Regions from separate parts of the Homo sapiens genome. Here regions 2, 3, 4, 5 and 6 are each linked to region 1. Evidence: promoter capture Hi-C in 16 types of primary human blood cells and fetal thymus (Javierre and others, 2016). All regions are on one chromosome and are shown on one strand. The core of a region is centred on a gene start or on the middle of the fragment in contact, and the rest is flanking DNA. Distances in the headings are between cores, read along the strand shown.

Region 1 (4,073 bases), core at 1-2,500:
CACATTAGATATATTTAAGTAGTGGAGTTGACTCATTCAACATTTTAAAATATTTGTTGAACACCTGCTCTGGAACAAGGCTTGCGCTCAACGCTGGGATCAAAGTGGTAAAGACAGGAAGCATCCCTGCTTCAGCTATAAAACTGTAGTTGCTACCTTTGAGAGCCATCTTTGGGCCAGGCACAAAATCAAATTCTGTGTGTCTTTATAACAGCCTGATGAGACCGTTGTTATTAAGAACTTCACTAAATGTGAAGAAATACACTTAAACTAAGAAATTAGAGTCCCATTTTAAATGCAGGCCAAATGACTGAAAAAAAATTTAGAGTATAATTAAAAAATTAAAAGTACACACTTAAAATGTAGTTTGATAAGTTTTGACAAACGTATATATTTTTACACCACCATTGAGATATAAAACATTCTCATCATCCGAAAAGATTCCTTTGTATCCCCTTCCCAACCACTGATCTGCTTTCTAACATCGTAGTGTTTTCTAGTGTTTCTTATAGATGGAATTATACATTATGTACTCAATTCTTACTTCTTTGACTCAGCATGAATTTGGTGGTGCCCATCACTAATTCATTTTTATTACTGCTGACTTCAGACCTTTAGGGGAGAGAAGACATAAATCAAATAATCACCTAATTAAGTATTTAATTACAACAGCATCAAGTTAACCTAAGGGTAAGTACAAGTGGAAATACATTACCTTGTTTGTTAACAATTCAATCAATACGACCTTGGTGTACAGTGGGGGGCTATAGGGTCATGATTCAGCTTGTGGAAAACAAATGAAAATAAATGTTAGCGAAGAGTGACTCTAAAGAACCTCTGTCCTCACGGTAATTTTTTTAATGTGTCAGATGCTGGTGGGAGGCATTCTTCCTTAGCTCTTTACTCCCATCCCTTACACTTAACAGAGGAAAGGATCTGTAAGGCGCGTACCCCTCTACTGCCCACTGTCGACGAAAACAGCCTCGCCCTGCACCGCCACCGCCACGCATAAGGCGGTGTGTGGGCAGCTCGGACGTGGCACCTGCCCTCAGCTGCTCAATCCCGGGCGCCGCGACGGTCACGTGCACAGCGGCAGGCCTTTTTGCCCCGCCCCCGCGGCCCGGCTCCTGCGTGGGCCCGGCCCCGCCCACAGCCCGCGCAGTCCCGCGAGCCTGGCCTCGGCGGCCCCAGCTTCTAAGGAGCTCGTGAGGGCCAGGCTGCGCCTGCGTCGGGCGGCTGGTGGGCGGGGCGAGGGCCGCTGGGGCCGCGAAGTGGGGCGGCCGGGTGGGCTACAAGCCGGGTCTGGGCTGAGGGGCGCGGCTTCGCGGTGGACCCCAGCCCGGCAACGGGAAGGCGAGCTCTCCTCCACCGTCCAAAGTAAACTTTGCCGCTCCTTCCGCGGCGCTCCCGAGTCCTCGCCGCCGCCGGGCCGCCGCAGTCCGCGAAGAGCCGTCCTGCGTCAGGGCCTCCTTCCCTGCCCCGGCGCGGGGCCACTGCGCCATGGACGCCACAGCACTGGAGCGGGACGCTGTGCAGTTCGCCCGTCTGGCGGTTCAGCGCGACCACGAAGGCCGCTACTCCGAGGCGGTGTTTTATTACAAGGTAGGGCCGGGCCCGGCGCTTCGGTCGGAGTTGCTCAGTCGGAGTGCGGCCCGGGCCTGCGGCCGAGGGGCGGGATCCGGGTGCGGAGGCTAGCGGCCCCGGCTTTGCTTTTCCCTCGTCCGCCTCCCGGCCCTCCTCTTGTTGGGAGCGGCAAGCCCGAGTGCAGAGGCCGACGCTGAGGCTGCGGGGAGGCTGGGTCGCGGCTTGCAGCCGCCGCTCCTCCACCTGTAGTCCTGACTGGCAAATGCCCACCGTTGAGCCGCTTTGGGGGGCAGGTGTTAGATATGGGTAGTTAGTAGCCAATTCTTGCTGTCACTTGACTCTGATTTACAGCTAGCGGGAAATGGCCTGTGATATATATCAAAATAATGCATGCTCGTTAAATAAACTTAAAAAGAATAAAAACCATCTCCTGTCATAGCATTTGACATACAGTCATGCGTCCTTAGCGATGTGATATTTTCTGAGAAATGTGTTCTTAGGCCATTTTGTTGTTGTGCGAACACCGTAGAAAGCGCTTACACAAGCCTGAATGGTACAGCCTGTTCCACACCTAAGCTGTATGGCATGGCCTGTTGCTCCTAGGTTACAGGCCTGCGCAGCGTGTTGCTGTACTCAGTGGTGTGTGCAGTTACATGCAGTGGTAAGTATTTGTGCATCTAAACATAGAAAAGGTACAGTAAACATGCAGCATAAAAGATAAAAAAAAAATACTACACCAGTGTGGGGCACTTACCCACAAAAGGAGCTTGCAGGACTGGAAGTTGCTCTGAGTTGGTGAGTAGTGGTGAGTGAATGTGAAGGCCTGGGACATTCACTGCTCTACTCTTGTAGACTTTATAAGCAGTGTACCCTTAGGCTACGCTAAATTTTTTTAATCTTTCTTCAGTAATAAACTAACCTTAGCTTACGGTAACCCTTTTACTTTATAAACTTCTAAATTTTCTTAACTTTTTAACTCTTTTGTAATAGCTTAAAACGAACTTATTGTGCAGTTACACAAACATTTTCTTTATATCTTTATTTGGTAAGTTTTTTTGTTTCTTTTTTTTTTTTTATTCTTTAGTTAAAAACTAAGGCACACGTTAGCCTAGGCCTACACCTCGTCAGGATCATCAATATTACTGTCTTCCACCTCCAATCTTGTCCCACTGGGAGGTCTTCAGGAGCAATAACAGGAATGAAACTGTCGTCTCCTATGATAACAATGTCTCTTGAAATATCTCCTGAAGGACATGTCAGAGACTGTTTTATAGTTAACTTTTTTTTATAAAAGGAGTATACTAACAGTACATAGTATAGCATAGTAAATACATAAACCAGTAACATAGTTGTTGATTATCAAGTATTATGTACTCTACATTATTGTGTGTGGTAGACTTTTACACCACTGGCACCCCAGTAGGTTTGTTTACATCAGCATCACCACAAACATGCGAGTAAAGTGTTGTGCTATGACATTATGATGGCTATGACATGACCAGGCAATAGGAATTTTTCAACTCCATTATAATCTTAGGGGACCACTATCATATATTCAGTCTGTTGTTGACTGAAATGTTATGTGGTGTGTGACTATATTTTTGTGTTTTTTTATGCGTATGTGTATATGCTTTTTTTTTTTTTTTACAAACTGGTTTATACTGTTTTTAGTAATAGCTGCACAGTAGTTCATTATGTGGGTGTACCATATTTTTTTTTTTAAGAGACAGCGTCTTGCCCTGTCACTCAGCCTGGAGTGCCGTGGCCCACTAATAATAGCTCATTGCAGCCTCAAACTGCAAAGCTCAAGCAATCCTCCTGCCTCAGTCTCCCAATTGGTGGGACTACAGGTAGACACAACCACACTTGGCTAATTTTTTTTTTTTTTTTTTTTTTGTGTAGAAATGGAGTCTCGCTGTGTTGCCCAGGCTGGTTTCGAACTCCTGGGTCAAGCGATCTTCCTGCCTCAGTCTCCCAAAATGCTGGAATTACAGGCGTGAGCCTCTGTGCCTGTCCAGTGTACTATAATTAATTTACAGACTCTTGGGCATTCAGTTGATTTTGTTTTTTCAACATCATAAGTAACGATGTAGTTCATATCTTTATAACTAATTCTTATGACTAGTGCAAATTTTTGCCTGAATTTTCTTTGGGATAAATTACCGGGGACAGAATTGATAAATCAAAGGGTATGAGCTTCCATGGTCCACTCTCTTCTCTCCAATTCTGAGGATTTGCAAATATACCCCTCTAGCTCTAGCTAGATTTGGAGGGAGCTGTGTCCTCATGATAGTGTCACCTTTTCTTTTAGAAAGATTATCAGACTTTGATAATACTGTACAATAGTAGTACTTTTTTTCACAAATGTATGTGCTGTCAATAAAGTGTGGTTTGTTTCAGATTAATATTTTGTTGCTTTCATTTTATAATCTTTTTTCCTTTTTTTTTGAGACGGAGTTTTGTTCTTGTTGCTCAGGCTGGAGTGCAAT
Region 2 (4,073 bases), core at 919-3,418, 500 kb after region 1:
CCGGGCGCGGTGGCTCATGCCTGTAATCCCAGCACTTTGAGAGGCTGAGGCGGGCAGATCATGAGGCCAAGAGATCAAGACCATCCTGGCCAACATGGTGAAATCTTGTCTCTACCAAGAGTACAAAAATTAGCTGGGTGTGGTGGCGGGCGCCTGTAGTCCCAGCTACTCGGGAGGCTGAGGCAGGAGAATTGCTTGAACTCAGGAGGCGGAGGTTGCAGTGAGCAGAGATCGCGCCACTGCACTCCAGCCTGGCGACAGAGTGAGACTGCAAAAGAAACACAACAGTATATAGGCCATAATTTACAATTTTAATACATTTTATTACAGCAGAAAAAAAAAGCACTGAAATAGCACTGGTACCAGTGATCTTGGGCCATAAAAGTGAAATAGCCTCTGTTTATTCATTTGATACATGGAGAAGCCAGCTAAATAATCTAAAGTGTATTCATGTTCAAATTCCAAGTCTATAATTATTCAGTGATAATTTGTTTGGTATTCAAATACGTCTACCCAAATATTAAACTACCTGGGGAAAAAATTCTTTAATCAAATACTCCTTATTAAAAGTTTCCAAAATCACACTGAAGTCATATAAAAACAAATGAAAAGAAATTCTAAAGCAATGTAACTGATCTTTCAGTAACTCTAGCTCACAAATATATGAGAGCCATTATTTCAATGCTAACACTTATTTCTTTAAATGCTGAATTTCTTAAAATGCTTTAGACCTCTTAGAAATTACTTTCAGAATCTTCATTGTAATATCTTCAATGGCAGCAAATATTCATCCATTTAAGTGCAATTTTGATATTTATGTACAGCTAAAATTCTTTGGAGTCAAGCATAATAAAAAAAAGAAGATTAAGCTGGGTGCAGTGGCTCATGCCTGTAATCCCAGCACTTTGGGAAGCGGAGGTGGGCGGAACACCTGAGGTCGGGAGTTCAAGACCTGCCTGACCAACATGGAGAAACCCCATCTCTACTAAAAATACAAAATTAGCCAGGCATGGTGGCACACACCTGTAATCCCAGCTCCTCGGGAGGCTGAGGCAGGAGAATCACTTGAACCCAGGAGGCGGAGGTTGCAGTAAGCTGAGATTGCACCATTGCACTCCAGCCTGGGCAAGAAGATCAAAACTCCGTCTCAAAAAATAAATAAATAAATAAATAAAATAAAAAGGTTAAAGTGGGTATCACTATGATAAAGAAATAAAATAAAACCCACGTCTGGCTCTAAGGTAATAAGACTGGTGTTTTGTTTTGTTTCACAAACTAATTCTGAGGACATGTCAGGAAAAGGAAGTGTTTCAGTCAGTGTGTAAACTCTGTACACAGCCTTCCTTGGTGCCGAATTCAGAGGACAGTGCTCACTGGGATGCAGAAAAAGCCTGCAAGTCTGTAGGAATACTTTACAGGCAAAAACATTTTACCCAAGGGCATTTAAAAAAAATCTTTAATCAAGTTCTCTAGATGTTAGTGATAAAACAGAAATGGGTCTTCCTTACTGAGACCTGAATACAAAACTTATTCTAATACAATTTCTTTTATTGGCATACCTTTCAGATTTTGCTAAACAATATAAATTTTCATAATTACTCTGGGTAAGCATTATCTCTAACAAATGAAAAAGATTACTGACACTAAGTTAAATGACTTTTCCCAAATCCTTTTGGCTAGAATATGGCAAACCAAGGACTAAACCACCTCAGGTCTTCCCTTTATCCATTGTTCTATGTTCCCACAAAGCTTTAGAACAGTGGTTAATCACTTACAGTGGTAAGTTAACTAGGGTGCTTATAAAATACTGAATCACAAAATTGCTTGATCTTGAAAATGTGAACTTCATTAGAGGGTGGGGGCAGAAGAGTCTGTATACTCTTTTTTCTGTTTGCACATTAACACATGTTCATTTTATGAAACGCAGACAATTAAGAAATGAAGATTCTCCATAATCTGTCCTCTGAAATAAAATATATACACAAAATCTGAAAAAATATTTAAGGCTAAACAATATTCTGTTACAATTTTTTCCTCAATGTTAGGCAAATTAAATATCTTCATCCCCACTAACCACATAGGTTAAAATCGGAATGCATTTCAAACTATTTAAATTTCTCCTACTCTTACCCTACCACTCATGAACCCTACTATTTTGAGTTCTGAGGCAAGTTCAGACTGATTCAAATTCATGTGTCCCATGGCTAGTCAGAGCCCTGGGTAAGGACCACTCAGCCAGGAAAACAGATGTGGTATTGTCACTCCAAGAGGCCCTCCCTCCTCTCTACTCTTCCCATCATGGCATACAACAGTTCTTACCACCCCCCACCACCCCACCCCTGGCCCAAAAAATCAGTTTTAAAAAATACAACTAACCTTTATAGGAAGATTAGGATACGTCAGAACTGTTCCAAACAATTCATATATACTAAACCATTTTAAACTCTACATAGTCGTGACAGAGTTTAGACTAGTATCTCCATTTCACAGATTAAATAGGCACAGAGAGGTTAAGTAATTTGCTGAAGGTCCCCATAGTAAAAGGCAGAGCTAGTATCAAACACTGCTCTTACATATATATACACAATAAGCTTAACAAGGTTGTTGAATGTAAGTCACATACAAAAGGCAAATATATCTTCTATATACCAACACAAAAAAATTTAAAGATTGATTTTGGTAATAAAAAATATCAGATACATAGGAATAAATCTCAGCATTACAAAACCTCTACACACAAAAAACTGCATGATCCCATTTTTATGAAGTTTGAAAACAGACAAAAATAAACTGCCATTAGAAGTCAAAATGTAGCCTCATTTCCTAAGAGTGTTGCTATGGTCTAAATGTTTATGTCCCCCCACACCCATTCACATGGTGAAATTCCAACCTCAAGGTGATGTTATTAGGAGGTGGGGCCTTTAGGAGGTGATTAGGTCAAGAGGGCAGAGCCCTCCCTCATGAATGGGATTAGTGTCCTTATAAATAAGGCCCAAAAGAGCTCTCATTCCTTCTACCATGTGAGGATATGGCAAGAATATGCCCTCAAAGAGGAAGTGGGCCTTCTCCAGACACTGAATGTGCTGGTGCCTTGATATTCTTGACTTCTCAGCTTCCAGAACTGTGAGAAATAAGATTTCTGTTGTTTATAAGCCACCCAGTTTTTGGTATTTTGTTATACCAGTCCAAACAGACTAAGAGAATTGTTATTGCGAAGTTACGATGTTGCTGAAACAAATATCTAAAATGTGGAAGAGGTTTTGGAACTGGGTAATGGATAGAGGACGGAAGAGTTATGAAGTGCGGGCTAGAGATAACAACCCATAAAATATTTTAAAAAATTATATATGATATAGAAAAGGCTTTATAACATATACCAGGACTTCAACTTTGATTAAGGCTGTGAGGGACATAAAATAATCTACATACACACAGAGCAATATAACTGTTGATGATGGTTATCTCAGGAGAGCTGGTATGAGGGGAATTTCTTCCTTATAATCAGGAAAAACAGCCCTCAACCTTTCCTTCTCTTATATACATACTACACACAGGTGTGGAGAAGACCCACATGACATCCTGCTCAAAGACAGCCCTATACGTATCTGCAACAGGCAAATATAATTTTATTTATTAATATTTCACATATTTAATATGTTCATTGCGATAGCAGCCATATATTTGTTTGCTGGATTCTTACATGATGTAAAATAAAGACACTTCAGAGGACTTGCTGAATGACTGTCTACCAAGAACGCAGGCATCAGGACAATGGGGGTAACAAGCAGAATGACTAGAATGAGTCACGGAAGATTTCATGTATTTTTCCAATTATTTACTCAAAGTGAGGATGAAGGGATAAAAGGCAGAGCAGAATTATAATTACTGTATGTTGGTCCTAAACAAAAGAAAACCAATGTCAGATTGTTAAAAATTCCAAAGTATAAACAACAACTTTTCCTGGGGAGCTTTAAAGGTAGAAACTGTGATGCTGACAGGGGATTTTTAAAAAACCATTTAAAAAACAAATAAGCAAATGTACATTACTGAATAATAGCAATTGGAAGCTCTGA
Region 3 (4,073 bases), core at 397-2,896, 480 kb after region 1:
TAGTATGAGTACTAGTCTCTGGCCACTTCACTACACTCATTTCTACTTGCCTTAGCGAGTAGAAATGGGAAAAAGAGAAGTTAAACCCCAAAGGTTTTATAGTTTTCAAAACTGTTTTGGTTAAGGATTTAAGGTAGTAAAAAACAAAGAGACTAAACTAGCTTGTTCAATGAGCAACAGATTTAACTATTCAAGTTTTTATGGTGCTATCAGTACTCAGCTGAAGGATAACCAACAGTATAACAGGACAAACCTCAAGAACCCAAAATGTTCTAACGGCAAAAGAATACAACTCCCAACTTTGGCATAAGGACTAATATGAAAATCAAAATATTGTATCTCAGAAATACTTGTGGAAACATTTAATGAAGTTATAATTTTACAAGATTCAGCTTTTTCCTCTTTTGCTTTAACTTGATAACTTTGTCAGAACAGCTCCCAGTGAAAGAACTATGAAACAGCATATTATAGAAAGATAGGAAATCTCAACTTCCTGGTAAGGCAGTCTGATTTTACAACAGATATTATACTTATTTATTTTTAGCAAATGGGTATTTATATAAAGAGACAACTTATATTTTCTCTGCATTTTGAGGGAAGGTTATTAGAATTGTGAACTACAGCTTTGTAGATCTGCTGTCATAATTAACATTAATCTTGAAGCTACACTGAAATTGAAAACAAATTTTAAAAACCTCTAATTTCTCTACTAAAGCCTGAAGCTTGAACTTTGACAACACTGATGCTTGCACTGTATATAATGTACTTGAGTTTTCTAAGATGATCAAATCTAAAAATATCTCAACATGCTTCATTGCATAAATTATTTTAATTAGTGGCATTTCATAAGCCAAACTGCATTTTTAACATCTATAACTTCAAAGTAGCTTTATGCTTCCCTACGTGACCTTTTATGAGTCTACCTATAAAAGCGATGACTGTGACTGTGAGCCTGTAGGAGGCCAAAGAAAATCTCTTTTAACCATGTAGCAGAGTTAACCCATCAAAGTTTCTAATTCTAAGACCTGCTAGGGATTTATTCCTTTAAAACATTGAACATGGATATTACTGGTAATATAAGAATGTTATCTTGCAATGTGCTCAGAAAACATACATAGATTTCAGTTTAGAATGTGATACATCTCACTGTTTCTCCTACTTTTGGTTATTTTTCCCCTAATATGATTGTATTTAGAAAGTAAAAGAACATGGCTGGGTGCAATGGCTCATGCCTGTAATCCTAGCACTTGGGGAGTCTGATGTGGGAGGATTGCTTAAGCCCAGTTGTTCAAGACCAGCCTGGGCAACATAGTGGGACTCTTAAAAAAAAAAAAATAGTAAAAGAACACAATCAAAATACAAGCACACTATATAAAAGCAATGGAAACATTCTAAAAACCTCCTAAAAATGCAAAATATTTGTGGAAATAAGGATCTAAGAAAAACTTCAGGCTACATGGTGGCTCATGCCTGTAATCCCAACACTTTGGGAGGCTGAGGTGGGAGGATCACTTGATGCCAGGAGTTCAAGACCAGCCTGGGCAACATAGCAAGATCCTACCAAAACTAAAAAAGAAAAGAAAAGAAAAGAAAAACCTCAAAAATACTTCATGGCTTATCTCAGAACACCTTTGACAACTAGTGTCTTGGCTTTAGCATGACAAAGGACAGGAGTGAGCCTACGTACTAAGTATTATTAGTACGTGAGCCTATACAGTAGATTATTCCCAAGGTTTTTGCTAATTTTAAACTTAAAATTTGCCTTATAAATATGTCATTCTTTTATCTCTGTTCACTACACAATGATATGCATTTGTGTTTGTATACTTAACCATTGTAGCAAGCCCAGTGAAGTGCCGTATATCCATGATTGTCTGCTGTGGCTGGATTTGCATCCATAGATGCTGCTGACTGCAAAAGGGCTCCAAGAACACCAATGTGTCCACAGGCAGCAGACAGGTGTATAGGCGTCCGGCCCCTGCTATCCCGAAGTAAGCACTTAGCACCATGTTGAAGTAATGCATCTACACATTCTTCATGGCCTGTAACTGCCTGAAAGAAAATAATTTAAAGGTAGTCAAACATATTATGCTAAACATTACATGCCAATTTCAGCTAATTAAAAACTTTAAAGACCATACTCTCCATATCCTTCCATCAATTAAAGCCATTTATCATTTTATGAGTAATTCTGTATTTTTATTGGAAGTGGTTTAAAAATTCAGTTAAAGCAAGAACCCTTCTAAAATGCAAATAGTATGAAAACAGGAAGAGAGAAACTTGGTATTCAATGAAAATAATGATATTTCAAAGGTGAAAAAAGATTAAAGTGTATAAGAAAATAAGTGAGATAATGGAAAAAGTCAAATTGACATTAATTCTACTAAAAGTTTTAGAGTTTTAAAATTTTGTTCTAACATTGTTCTCTAGATTAAGTTGTACTCTGTAATTGTTCAAAATTAGCATTTAAAAACTAAGATACTGAAAGAAATGGTAAAGACTATTTGACGAACATTTAATGAAGAAAAAATAAACATAACCTAGTTCAGTTCTAGGTAATATGAGGTCATAAAAGCTTTTTGAAAGGAAAGAGCATATTTCTGCTTACCCCTCTATGCAACGCTGTCCTTCCCCACTTATCTTTGGCATCTACATTTGCTCCTTTGTTCAGCAATGAGTAAACACAGTCTGTGTGCCCGTTGAGAACAGATAGCATCAGAGGCGTCCTGAGCAACAACAGGAATAGGTTCAGTGCTGTCACTTAAGACTGTACTCTGGTTTTCGAAATACGCCCTTCTGTGATGCAACAATTATTTATCGAAACTTACTGTCCATTTCCATCTTGAATATCCACTGCATTCTGTGGTTCTGCATTTCCTATTAATAGCCGTAAGCATTCTGAATGACCATTTGTTGCTGTAAAGTGAAATTTAAACATTTCAGTAATTACATATAATGATAAAATAGAAAATGTCCATCTAAAAGCACATCTTCTAGAATTTACTTTTGGGATAGTTGCACTGAATTTAATATGCAAGAATGAAAACTATAGGTAAAAAGAAGGTTTCTACGGCCTTTGACTGTTAAAGCTGGAATAAATGTGAATTCCTCACAGTAAAACATGACAGGCAGACCGCCTACCCAGCACCCATGCCCTATCATCTGCCTCTAAAAGAATGCTCATTTTATTTAGCTCTCTGGCAATGTGGTCAGGAAGAGTGCCTTGACTCCAGCAAAGGGATGATACCATGATTAGACCAAGTCAATCACAAGAACCCCATTCTCCTCTGACAGTGATCAGTTTTAAGGTGAGCAGCACAGGAACCAGGTCTGACTACTGAGATGCCGATAAGTCTAGAGGCTGCTGGGAAATACTTTTATCTTTAATAATGAAAAGCCCCCATTCCTTCCTGATTTTAGATGCAATCCTTAAAAGCAGCAGCAATAATCCCACAACATGAATGCAAATGTAAGAGAATAACAGAATTTAATCCAGAGCTCTGACACCGTTGTAGAATCAACCAACCCTGGAACTGCATCTGCCTGATATTGCTTTTTTTTTTTTTTTGAGACAGAATCTCGCTCTGTCGCCCAGGCTGGAGTGTAGTGGTGTGATCTTGGCTCACTGCAACTTCCGCCTCCTGGGTTCAAGCAATTCTCTGCCTCAGCCTCCCAAGTAGCTGGGATTACAGGCGCCTGCCACCACACCCGGCGATTTTTTTTGTATTTTTAGGAGAGATGAGGTTTCACCATCTAGGCATGGCTGGTCTTGAACTCCTGACCTCATGATCCACCCACCTCGGCCTCCCAAAGTGCTGGGATTACAGGCATGAGCCACCGTGCCCAGCCTGCCTTTCGACATTGTATATGAGACACTAAACCCCTTAAGCTATTTTCAGTAGGGTACTCTGTTATTTATGGCTGAAATAATTTCAAATGATATATATATATATACATACAGTACAAGAAAAATGATCCATCTAAAGAATGCATGTGTTAAGTCCAAATGCATAAAATGGGCAAGGGTACAAGTAGAAGTAGTCCAAAGAAAAGAGCTTTTGAAGTAAGTTAAA
Region 4 (4,073 bases), core at 747-3,246, 430 kb after region 1:
GAGATGGAATCTCACTCTGTCACCCAGGCTGGAGTGCAATGGTGCGATTTGGGCTCACTGCAACCTCCGCCGCCCGAGTTCAAGCGATTCTCCTGCCTCAGCCTCCCGGAGTAGCTGGGATTACAGACACGTGCCACCATGCCCGGCAAACTTTTTGTATTTTTAGTACAGACAGGGTTTCACCTCCGCAGTGGTCATTAAAGCTTGACCACTAAATTGCCCTGGTTCTTCAACATGCACTAGGCAGGCTGGACCAGAAGCCAGGAGACCTGGCTCCCAGTCTCATTATCATTACTAACCAGTCCTGGAGTTTTCCCTCACCATGAAGATGGAATTTTTACCATCTGCTTTCTCTGCTTTGTGTGGCAGGAAGATAAAAAAATAATAATAATGGATATTCAAACGGTTTATATTGCATGTAAAATGCAATGTGGCATTGATTGTAGATCCCTTAATTCAGACAGATTTCCCCACGCAGACGCTGTGTGTCACAGGGGGAATGGGCAGCGTCACTTTTTACATCCAGTCATATTGTATGAAATTGCAACAAATTCAAAAAGATGCCATCGTGGGAGTGTGGTGAGTAAAAAACAGCTTTCATGAAACTCAAATCTTGAAAGTCAGATGCTTTCTGGGTCTTGTTTAACTGTAAAAGAGATAGATGAAGTATTAGAAATGGAGAAGGAAAGGGGGGAAAAGCCATCCATTTACTGCTTAAGAATGGCTCTGCTATTGCGATACCTAAGGTCACATGCGTAGCCACTTGGGTTAATGATACTCAGTTTGTCCACGGAGTGGCAGTAGCAACTGTCTGAGAATCAGTCTCAGCCGGGGTTCCTTCTGTCTATAGAAAGTGAAAGACAGACTGTTATTCAAATTCCATGTGCAAAAAAGCCTTCTTACATTAAATACCTGGGCATTTCAGGAAGAAGTTTTATTTGACTTAAACTGTGAAGGCAGTTTCTCATTTGAGGAAAAGAAAGATATAACGTGTTTCAGTTGAAATGTCAAGATCCTTTGATTGCACATTTGGTTTCCTAGGATAAATTATTCTAGCCAATGGAGCAGAAACTGGCTAATCAAAGGCACAGTGCACAGTTACACTTCTGTATATCATTCTCTTTTTTTAAAATAATAGCTGGAATTTTTTTTGAAAGTGAAATTACAATTTACCACCTCAACTCAGAGGACATATTAGCTTGATAACTTATTCACAGTTGCTGGTGAGTTCAGGCTTAAATCATCAGCTGTCACTCACAAGTGTTTACCCTTGAACTTTCCGAATGAGACATCAAACGTCTTGGTAGTGGGTGGGTTTAAACAAAGCTGCCCACGCGAGAACCATTGTGGAGCTTCTTGTTCCAGGGGCCGGTCACGGACAAGCTCATGACCAGCACACTCAGATGTGACAATCAGATAACAAGAGGCAAGAGAAGACTTTCTGGGAAATAAAAGATCATTTTTGTGATTTCTTTAAATTCAGATCATATAAATTAGGTGAAGATAGACATTATTTCTCCTGTTTATGTAAAAGAATTTAGACAATGAAGTCACGAAATTCATGAGAATAATTTAAAGACTGTTGGAACTTCCCAATGTTTTTCTTGGCATTCAGTCACTACACATAGAAATGTATACTATGCCGGTTCCTAATGACTTAGCAGTTCCCTCAGGCTTTGTTCCACAGGATGTGACATCTCCTCTGCCAACTTTTCCTGCCTCCTTTCCTAATCATAGGATTGCTATTCTCCCTGACAAGTAAAGAATGACAAGATATTTTATTAAAAAGATGTTTTATTTATCTTTTAAAGATTTTTTAATGTATGTATCTGCCTCTGAAATTATTAAGAATGCCTTAATAATAATCCCTCTCATTTTATTTCAGAAGACACTATTGTAATAGCATGGCTAGGAAGGAAACACAGCTAATTATTAAGATGAATCATTTAGCAAGGTGGGGAAAAATCCCTTGTGTGTAAAAATATCTAGTGATTGACATATTACCAAATTTACATGAAATAGATTTCCATGTAATTGAGACTGATTTTTCCTATTAGATGGAAAGAACCTTCCTGATCAGGACTGGTGTTGGGGGAATGTTTTCCTTATGAAATCAGAAGCAGAGCTTCTGTAGGGCCGTCCAAGATCAGGATGCTTACTTCAAGATGCCACTCTGCATCTCTCCCCACCTGCCAAGTGTTTCCTGTCTCCCAGATGCTTTCTATTGGCTTATTGTAAGGACTTTGACTTCTGCGCTACGTGAACTGGGGAGTCACTGGAAGAGTTTCAGAGGTGCACCTTGGTAGACTCAGGCTTTCTCTGGATCTCACTGGCTGCTCTTATGAGTCCAGAATGGAAGAGGATGAGGACAAATGCAGGGGGATGTTAGGAGACCACTAAGCAGGTCCCTGTCATTTCTCTCTCTGTGATTCCTTTTGCTGCCACTTTCTCCTTGTCCCCTTGGCTCCAGCCCCCTGCTGTCCTTGCTGTTTCTTGCACCCGCCCGTGAGGCATGCTCCTGCCTCAGGCTCTCTGCCTGCCGTGCTCTCACCTCGCAGACCCACGTGATTTCCTCCCGAACCCCCTTCAGGCCTCGGTCCAAACATCACCCTCTCATCGAGGTCTTCCTTGACCACACTGCTTAAAATTGTCCCCCTCGCCTCACCTTACCACCTTCACTGCCTCATTTCTCCTTTGTGCTTAATCACCATCTCACACAGTTATCCAGAGCACGAGCCCCACGAGGAAGGGTCTGTCTTGTCCACTGTTGGACCCCTGACACCTAACCCCTGGGGCTGGCCCACAGTTGGGAATTGCATGGCTGTCTGAAGCCAGCACCTTCCTGGTTCTGCTGTTCCCTGGAAGTGGGGTTCAGTACACCCCACGAGCCAAGGCCCTCATCTCAGAGGGCGTGCACATGGTTGCCTCAATTGTGCTTTCACACTGGACCCTTCCTGCAGTTTACTCTCCTATGTCAGATGCCCTTCAATGAAAGCAAGTACATTGCCACCTTGTCACACCTCTAGTTACCATTTTCTTTATGGTCCAGGTCCTGACCAGCTCTAAAGATGGGTCAGCTGCTGTATTTCCAAGAACCCCATGACTTCCAGGGCCCCTTGTTCCCAGGAAGGCCCCGCACCCCAGTCGTCCCGTGCATAACCTCACGGGCCAGCACCTGGTAGCTGCTGGAAGGCTTCTGGGGGATGCCTGGGCCCCTCCAGCCCTACCTCTAGTCCTGCCACTTTACAACTGAGCACCTCCCGCTGCTGCCTGCTGAACCCTTCAGAGTCCTTGCCACAGGCCCTATTTACTTTTTCCTGAGAAGGTATGTGTGATGCCAAAGAGAGAAAAGCAGCATTTGCTAATTTGGGTAAAATGTTTCTTTGGGAAGGGCAAATTGATGTACAGTTGTCCCTCAGTATCTGTTGGGACTGGTTCCAGGACCCCGTGGATACCGAAACCCTCAGATGCTCAAGTCCCTTATATCAAATGGTGTAGAATTTACATGTAACCTAAACACTTCCTCCTGTACACTTTAAATCATCTCTAGATCCCTTACACTACCTAATACAAACTAAATGCTATATAAATAATTGTTATACTGTATTTTTTAAATTGCTATTATTTTTTATTGTTGTGCTATTATTTTTATTGGGCTCCCTCCTCCCCCTCCCACCCCAGTAATTTCAATCCAAGGTTGGTGGAATCCATGGATGCAGAAACAATGGATACTGAGGGCCGGCTGACTAGACCTATTTTTATTGTAATTACTCATTCTCTTCTACCTCATTAAGCTTGGTTCTTTCAAGCATGAATACCTGGTTGAATCTGCATAACCTCTTATTATCGACCTACCTTTGTTCACACACAAATGATTGCCACTTAGAGCTCTCCTACCGGGCTCCTTTTGTAAAATAAATTTTATCTTCTCCAGATAGAAAGAAATGTGATACCTTGCGGATTTTGCGGTTTCCTTGTTTTGCTGGATTGCAAGTCCTTTAGACATAAACAAATGTTCTGTACCCCGACATCGGTGGTACCCAGCTCTCAGTTGAGAAAGAGATGTAATGTGA
Region 5 (4,073 bases), core at 766-3,265, 370 kb after region 1:
TTGTTTTAAAGCTGTATCATTACGTTTCCGATGTGGCTCTTATAACACATACAGTTGCTGTTATTACTAATCTAATCTAATCTGAATGTCTGCCTTTTTCCAGGAGAGTTTATTATCATAATTGTCATAATTGCTGTGGGTTTTGTTTTGTTTTTCACTTCTCATTTTTCTGCTTTTTATCTGTTTCCCCTTTTTCCTGTCTTTTGCCATACAGGATCTGTATCTACTGCTTTTGTCTTCTTCAGTGATAAATGCAATTTTTCACAGAAATTATATACTCATAAATTGAGTACATACTCAAAAATCATCTTTAATATTGTATTAGTCCTATGAGACCCAATTTAACAAACAGATAACTGCAATCAGCAGGACGGACTTGCTTACTGATACTCTAAAACTCTTGAAATCATTGATTCAATTATTTATAGTCCCTTGTAACCTTTTTTACACTGGTAATGTCATTAATATTATCCTCTTAAAATCTGGCTAGACTGAAGATAAACTTCATTTCAACCTAAGTATAAAAAAATTAAGTGTAAGAATTAACTTGGTTACTGTATATAGTAATATAAATAAAAATACAACATATTAAGATAGCATTAAGTGAGGAACAATTAAAGATCTAGCAGCAAACATTACATTTAAAAAGCCCTCAGAAGCCAGGTGCTCACACCTGTAATCCCAGCACTTTGGGAGGCCAAGGTGGAAGGATCACTTGAGCCTAGGGGTCTGAGTCCAGCCTGGGCAACACAGTGAGGCCCTGTCTCTACAAAATAAAAATCAAAAACCCTCAGAATTAATTTTAACCCATGAATGAAAATATGAAGAACACCAAACACATGACAGTAATAAACTACAGAAAGGGAAGCAAGAAATGGCATCAAAAAAGATATTTAGGGGACTGCAAATGAATCCATAATTTTTTGCTTCCTAAAAAGAAAAAAAAAAAACACCTTAGGCCAGGCATGGTGGCTCATGCCTGTAATCCTAGCACTTTGCGAGGCCTAGAAGGGTGGATTCCTTGAGCCCAGGAGATCAAGACCAGCATGGGCAACACGGTGAAACCTCGTTTCTACAAAAAATACAAAAATTAGCTGGGTTGTAGTGGCACACACCTGTAGTTCCAGCTATTAATACTTGGGAGGCTGAGGTGGGAGGATTGCTTTAGCCCAGCAGGCAGAGGTTGCAATCAGGTGTGATTGCACCACTGCACTCCAGTCCAGGCAACAGAGCAAGACCCTGTCTCCAAAAAAAACCCAAAAACCGGCTGGGCGCAGTGGCTCACACCTGTAATCCCAGCACTTTGGGAGGCTGAGGCGGGCGGATCACAAAATCAGGAGATGGAGACCATCCTGGCTAACACAGTGAAACCCCATCTCTACTAAAAATACAAAAAATTAGCCGGGTGTGGTGGCAGGCGCCTGTAGTCCCAGCTACTAGGGAGGGTGAGGCAGGAGAATGGTGTGAACCCAGGAGACAGAGCTTGCAGTGAACCAAGATCGCGCCACTGCACTCCAGCCTGGGTGACAGAGCAAGACTCCGTCTCAAAAAAAAAAAAAAAAAAAAACCAAAAACCCTAAAGCAATATAAAACAATGTTAATAACTGATGCAATCCTACTTCTTATACATTACTGCCAAATGAAACCTTTTTTTACTTAGAGATTCATCTGTCTATATTTTTTATGTTGATGCTGATAAAGTTGAGTGGTGGTTATGTAAGTGTTCATTACATTATTCTCTCTTCCTGTGTGTATAGTTAGAATATTTCATAATAAAGACATTTCAAGAAATTAAAAAGAAAAAAGTTATAGTATATTAAAAAGCATGCCTTAAAAATCTAAAAAGAGGAAACTTCCAATGCCAGCCAAGATTGGCTAAGTTTGAAGAAGCAACCCACACAGAGGGTAAGTTTCCAAGGTATTTCTCCCCCGTGTTTTGTCTCCTGGCTTTGACTCAAAGGCAGCCCTAGTTGCAGAACTGCAAGCAGCGAAAACTTGCAGAGAAACTGTTTTTTTGGCCAAAGGATCAGGAAAAGGGCCACTGCAAGCTGGAGAGTATGGGGGGAAATGTCAGATTTTTTTTCTTTTTTTCTTTATCTCCAAGCTCTGCTCTGAGGGCAGCCTTACTGCAGAGCTGCATGGTGGTGGCTCCCAAGCAGCTGAAATTCCAAGAGAAACGTCATCTTTGAGGCAAGAGGGATTGGGAAAAAGGGTCCCTGTGGTCTGAAGAGTATGGGGACAATCCCCATTATTTTTTTCTTCTGCAGCTTGTTCAGAGGGCAGCTTTAGTTATGTGATACTATAAGGGAGCAGCAAGAGCCAGGAAAAGGGGCAACTGAGAATGGGAGAGTGGGGGTGTGGAGCCTACAGAGGAGAGAAAATAAATCCCTAATTCTGGGTATGAACCAGTACATGTCTGGGGCTCACCCCTGAGCTGGACATGTGCAGACAGACTCAAAACAGCACAGCAAAGGCTCTGAAACTGAAGTGACCCTGGAACTACTTATATATGGTTAAGTTCACACTTCGATTTGTAGTCAAGCTAATCTAATCACGTTGACTGATTGCTAAGAGAAACCAACAAAAATCAACATTCTACAGAGGATTTTAATATGACCCAGAATCTCCAAATACAATATCCAAAAATCCAGGATACAATCCAAAATTACTCAGTACAAAAAGAGCCAGAAAAATGTGATCAACTCTCAAAAGAAAAGATAATGAATAGATGCCAATCTGAGATGACTCAGATGTTGGAATTAATAAACAAAGACTGCAGAAACTATTATAATTTACCCCATCATGAAGTATAGAAAAATATTCTTAAAAGAAATGTAAAAATAGAAGATCTCAGCAGAGAAGCAAAATATAAAATAAAAGGATTAAAAAGAAATGAACAGATAGATACTCGGGGACATGTCAGACAGTATCAAAATGGATGAAGGTTGACATAGAAAAAATATTTGAAGAAAGAATGATGAAAACTTTCCAAATTTAGAGAAAGACAATTTAGAGAAAGACATAAATTTAAATATTCAAGATTTGAGAATCCCAAAAGGCTAAATTAAAATAAACCATTTCCAGGCACATCATACTTAAACTGCTGAAAACAAAAGACAAAGGAAAATCTTGGGAACAGCCATGGAAAAACAACATATTACATACAGAGCAACAATAATTTGAATGACTGCAGATTTCTCATATGAAATGAAAGCCAGAAGATAGTCCAAAAATAAACAGGTATGCTTAAAATTCCATGATTCTTTCAGAACTCCATCCTAGATGAAGATCACAAAATAATTTAAATTAGCCTAAAATCTACCAAGCCATTGTATTTAAAATCTGGAATGCCACACACCTGGATCTGGCTGCACCTACACAGTATGGATGGTTGTCAGGGACAACACCCTTCCCCATAGGGGTGGGCAAAAATGGCAGTTTATATTGCTCCACCAATTTCTTGATACTCTCTTCTGCATGAGCGTAAGCAGCACCTATAAGAAATGCAAATGTATTGGACAATTCAGTTAAGCTATAGGCACTGTGACCCTTAAAAAAGTTCATGTGAAATTGCTTTTTACTTATTTATATTTTGAGACAGGGACTCACTCTATCACCCAGGCTGGAGTGCAGTGGCATGATTTTGGCTCACTGTAACCTCTGCCTCCCTGGCTCAAGCAATCTTTCCTCCTCAGCTTCCCGAGTTGCTGGGACTACAGACACACATCACCACCGCACTCAGCTACTTTTAAAATTTTCTGTATAGACGAGGTCTCCCTATATTGCCCAGCTGGTATGCTGGTCTTGAACTCATGGGCTCAAGCAATCCTCCTTCCTTGACCTCCTAAGAAATTACTTGTAGATCTTCTCAAATACTCTCCTTCTGCCTATACCTGGGCTTAAACTCAAAACAAATTGTGATTACAGTTTTTATCGCTGGTATTTTAAAATGCTTAACAAAGTAAGAGTTCTAATTTTCCACCAATAACACTCTCAATTATCCTGAAGGATGTCTATCCCAAAACAAAAGTCACATCTCACAGCTCTTGCTACTGTCACTTACCCATTCTATG
Region 6 (4,073 bases), core at 670-3,169, 340 kb after region 1:
GCCTGGCTTATTTCACTTAACATAATGACCTCCAATTCCATCCATGTTGCTGCAAATGAAAGGATCTCATTCTTTTTATGGCTGAATAGTACTCCATTGTGTATATGTACCACATTTTCTTTATCCATCCATCTGCTGATGGACACTTAGGTTGTTTCCAGAACTTGGCTACTGTGAACAGTGCTACAATAAACATGGGAGTGCAGATACTGCTTCAATATACTGATTTTTCTTTTGGGTATAAGCCTAGGAGTGGGTTGCTGGATCATATTGTAGCTCTATTTTTAGTGGGTTTTTTTTTTTTTTTTTTTTTTTTTTTTTGAGACATGGTCTTGCTCTGTCACCTAGGCTGGAGAGCAGTGGCACACTCTCGGCTCACCATAGCCTCTACCTCTTGGGCTCAAGCAATCCCCCATCCTTAGTCTCCCGAGTAGTTGGGACTATAGGCATATACAATCATGCCTGGCTAATTTTTTATTTTTGTATTTTTGTAGAGATGGGGCTTTGCCATATTTCCCAGGCTGGTCTAAACACCTGAGCTGAAGCGATCCACCCTCCTCAGCCTCCCAAAGTGCTGACATTACAGGTGTGAGCCACTGTGCCCGGCCCTCTATTTTCAGTTTTTTGAGGAACCTCCAAACTGCTCTCCATAGTGGTTGTACTAATTTATATTCCACCAACAGTGTACAAGAGTTCCCTTTTCTCCACATCCTCTCCAGCATTTGTTATTGCCTGTCTTTTGAATAAAAGCCATTTTAACTGGGGTGAGAAAGCATCTCATTGCAGTTTTCATATGCATTTCTCTGATGACCATATTTAGCACCTTTTCATATACCTGTTTCCCATTTGTATGACTTACTTTGAGAAATGTCTGTTCAGATCTCTTGCCCATTTTTTAATTGTATTAGATTTTTTCCATACAGAGCTGTTTGAGCTCCTTATATATTCTGATGAGTAGTTTGCAAATATTTTCTCCCAGTCTGTGGGTTGTCTCTTCACTTTGTTTCCTTTGCTGTGCAGAAGCTTTTTAACTTGATGTGACTCCATTTGTCTATTTTTGCTTTGGTTGCCTGTGCTTGTGGGGTATTACTTATGGTTCAATCTTGGTAGGTTGTATGTGTCTAGGAACTTATCCATTTCTTCTGGGTTTTCCAATTTCTTGTCATATAGTTGCTCCAATGATCCTTTGAATTTCTGTGATATCAGTTGTAATGTCTCCTTTTTCATCTCTGATTTATTTGGGTCTTCTCTTTTCCTTAATCTGGCGAAAGGATTTTATTTTTTAAAAAATTGTTCTGTTGAACTTTTGCATTGTTTTCTTTATTTCAATTACATTTATTTCTGCTCTGCTCTTTATTATTTCTTCTACTAATCTTAAGTTTGGTTTGCTCTTGCTTTGCTAAATCTTTAAGATATATTGTTAGGTTGTTTATTTGAAGTTTCTCTATTTTTTCTTTTTTTTTTTTTTTTGAGATGGAGTCTTGCTCTGTCACCCAGGCTAGAGTACAGTGGTGCAATACTGGCTCGCTGCATCCTCTGCCTCCTGGGTTCAAGCAATTCTCCTGCCTCAGCCTCCTGAGTAGCTGGGATTACAGGCATGTGCCACCACACCCAGCTTTTTTCTTTTGTACTTTTAGTAGAGACAGGGTTTCACCATGTTGGCCAGGCTGGTCTTGAACTCCTGACCTCAGGTGATCCACCCACCTCAGCCTCCCAGAATGCTGGGATTACAGGCGTGAGCCACTGCACCCAGCCAGTTTTTCTACTTTTTTGATGTAGGTACTTATAGCTATAAACTTCCCTCTTAGCACTGCTTTGCTGTATTCCATAGGTTTTGGTATGCTGTGTTTCCATTATCATGTGTTTCAATAATTTTTTCAGTTTCCTTCTTAATTTCCTCACTGACCCATTGGTTACTCAGACACATACTGTTTAATTTCCATGTGTTTGTATAGTTTCCAAAATTCCTCATTATCGATTTCCAGTTTTATTCCATTGAGATCAGGGAGGAGACTTGATATTATTTCAGTTTTTTAAAATGTTTTAAGACTTGTTTTGTGGCCTAACATATGGTCTATGCTTGAGAATAATCTATGTGCTGAGGAGAAGAATGTATATTCTGCAGCCATTGCATGAATTGTTCTATAAATATCTATTAGGTCCATCTGGTCTGCAGTGCAGATTAAGTCCAATGTTACTTTGTTTTCTGTCTGGATGATTTGTCCAATGCTGAAAGTGGGGTGTTGAAGTCTCCCACTATTATTATATTGGGGTCTATCTCTCTCTTTAACTCTATTAATGTTTGCTTTATATATCTGGGTGCTCCAGTATTGGATGCATATATAATTGTTATATCCTCTTCCTGAATTGACTCCTCTATAATTATATAATAATCTGGCCTCTTTTTACAGTTTTTGTCTTGAAGTCTATTTTGTCTGATACAGGTATAGCTACTCCTGCTCTTTTTTGATTTCCATTTGCATGGAGTATCTCTTTCCATCCCTTTCTTTTGTCTATGAGTGTCTTTATACGTGAAGTGTGTTTCTTGTAGGCAACAGATCATTGGGTCTTTTTTTTTCTTTATCCATTCAACCACTCTATGCTTTTTGATTGGAGCATTTAGTCCATTTACATTCAATGTTATTATTGATAAGTAATGACTTGTTTTCTGGTTGTTTTGTGGTCTTCTCTTCCTTCTTTCCTTCTGTCCTGTCTTCCTTTCTAGCCGAGGTGATTTTCTCTAGTGGTATGTTTTAATTTCTTCCTTTTTATTGTTTGTGTTATCAATCATATGTTTTTTGATTTGAGGTTACCATGAAGCTTGCAAATAATATCTTATAACCCATTTCTTTAAACTGATGACAACTTAACACTTGTATAAACAAGCAAAGAGAAAACTAATTAAAATGCTACACTTTTTACATCAGTATAGTGTGAGAAATAAAAATAAAAAATCTGTACACTTTAACTTCTTCCCTCTACTTTTTATTTTGTTTTTGTTTTAATTTATACCTTACTGAACTCTGTCTTGAACAGTTGTTGCAGTTATTGTTTTGTTTTGAGATAGGCTCTCACTTAACGCCCAGGCTGGCTGTAGCCTCGACCTCCAGGGTGGTGACTCCCACCTCAGCCTCCTGAGTAGCTGAAAGTGCAGGAACATGCCACTACACTCAACTAATTTTTTGTATTTTTTTGTAGTGACAGGGTTTCACTATGTTGCCCAGGCTGGTCTTGAACTCTTGAGCTCAAGCAACCTGCCTACCTTGGCCTCCCAAAGTGCTGGGATTACAGGCAAGAGCCACTGTGCCTGGCCATTTTTGACTTGTCCATCATTTAGTCTTTCTACTTAAGATATGAGTTTGCACACCACAATTACAGTGTTATAATATTTTGTGTTTTTCTGTGTGTTTACTATTAACAGTGAATTCTGCAGCTTCAGATAATTTCTTATTGCTCATTAAGGTCTTTTTCTTTCAGATTGAAGAATTCCCTTTAGCATTTCTTGTAGGACAGGTCTGGTGTTGATGAAACCCTTCAGCTTTTGTCTGGGAAAGTATTTCTTCTTCACAGTTGAAGGAAATTTTTGCTGGTTATATTATTCTACAGTAAAAGTTTTTTCCTTCAGCACTTGAAATGTGTCATGTCACTCTTTTTCCTGGCCTGTAAGGTTTCCACTGCAAAGTCTGCTGCGAGACGTACTGAAGCGTCATTGTATACTGTTTCTTTTCTCTTGCTTGTAGGCTGACTTCCTTATCCTTGACCTTTGGGAGTTTCATTATTAAATGCCTTGAGGTAGCCTTCTTTAGGTTAAATCTGCTTGGTGTTCTATAACCATCTTGTACTTGAATATTAATATCTTTCTCTAGGTTTGGGAAGCTGTTATTATCCTTTTGAATAAACTTTCTACCCTCATCTCTCTCTCTACCTACCTCCTCTTTAGGGCCAATAACTTTTTTTTTGAGACGGACTCTTGCTCTGTCACCCAGGTTGGAGTGCAGTGGCACAATCTTGGCTCACTGCAACCTCCACCTGCCGGGTTCAAGTGATTCTCCTGCCTCAGCCTCCTAAGTAGC

Evidence for each region. Contacts are between HindIII fragments. The CHiCAGO score rates a contact against its expected background, and 5 or more counts as called.
Region 2: a fragment that was not itself captured here is called in contact with the fragment with the promoter of CAPN7 in region 1 in 1 of 17 cell types (M0 macrophages); the score reaches 8.1 in M0 macrophages.
Region 3: a contact is called between a fragment that was not itself captured here and the fragment with the promoter of CAPN7 in region 1, in 1 of 17 cell types (M0 macrophages). The highest score is 5.6, in M0 macrophages.
Region 4: a fragment that was not itself captured here is called in contact with the fragment with the promoter of CAPN7 in region 1 in 4 of 17 cell types (M0 macrophages, megakaryocytes, M1 macrophages and 1 more); the score reaches 5.9 in M0 macrophages.
Region 5: a fragment that was not itself captured here is called in contact with the fragment with the promoter of CAPN7 in region 1 in 9 of 17 cell types (megakaryocytes, total B cells, M2 macrophages and 6 more); the score reaches 7.3 in megakaryocytes.
Region 6: a fragment that was not itself captured here is called in contact with the fragment with the promoter of CAPN7 in region 1 in 1 of 17 cell types (endothelial precursors); the score reaches 6.3 in endothelial precursors.

What each region holds. Positions count from the first base shown.
Region 1 is chr3:15,204,996-15,209,068 of GRCh38, forward strand. CAPN7 (calpain 7) reads left to right here and starts at 1,251. Exons shown (of 21, transcript NM_014296.3): 1 at 1,251-1,602. The coding sequence starts at 1,501. It also overlaps the pseudogene COL6A4P1. RefSeq lists a silencer at 957-1,476. The HindIII fragment of the contact is 5,244 bases long and covers 1-4,073 here.
Region 2 is chr3:15,700,496-15,704,568 of GRCh38, forward strand. All of the region lies in intron 14 of ANKRD28 (ankyrin repeat domain 28), which reads right to left. It also overlaps a transcript of BTD not described here. Among named protein-coding and RNA genes, the nearest start is that of MIR3134, 5.2 kb to the left of the region's middle. The HindIII fragment of the contact is 842 bases long and covers 1,748-2,589 here.
Region 3 is chr3:15,683,394-15,687,466 of GRCh38, forward strand. ANKRD28 (ankyrin repeat domain 28) reads right to left here. Exons shown (of 28, transcript NM_001349278.2): 19 at 2,829-2,916; 20 at 2,609-2,726; 21 at 1,833-2,052. It also overlaps a transcript of BTD not described here. Among named protein-coding and RNA genes, the nearest start is that of MIR3134, 12 kb to the right of the region's middle. The HindIII fragment of the contact is 1,853 bases long and covers 721-2,573 here.
Region 4 is chr3:15,629,542-15,633,614 of GRCh38, forward strand. The region is part of intron 1 of BTD (biotinidase); the gene reads left to right. Among named protein-coding and RNA genes, the nearest start is that of BTD, 30 kb to the left of the region's middle. The HindIII fragment of the contact is 3,591 bases long and covers 202-3,792 here.
Region 5 is chr3:15,576,552-15,580,624 of GRCh38, forward strand. HACL1 (2-hydroxyacyl-CoA lyase 1) reads right to left here. Exons shown (of 17, transcript NM_012260.4): 9 at 3,359-3,494. Among named protein-coding and RNA genes, the nearest start is that of HACL1, 23 kb to the right of the region's middle. The HindIII fragment of the contact is 7,521 bases long and covers 1-4,073 here.
Region 6 is chr3:15,544,339-15,548,411 of GRCh38, forward strand. No RefSeq gene overlaps it. Among named protein-coding and RNA genes, the nearest start is that of COLQ, 25 kb to the left of the region's middle. The HindIII fragment of the contact is 1,797 bases long and covers 1,022-2,818 here.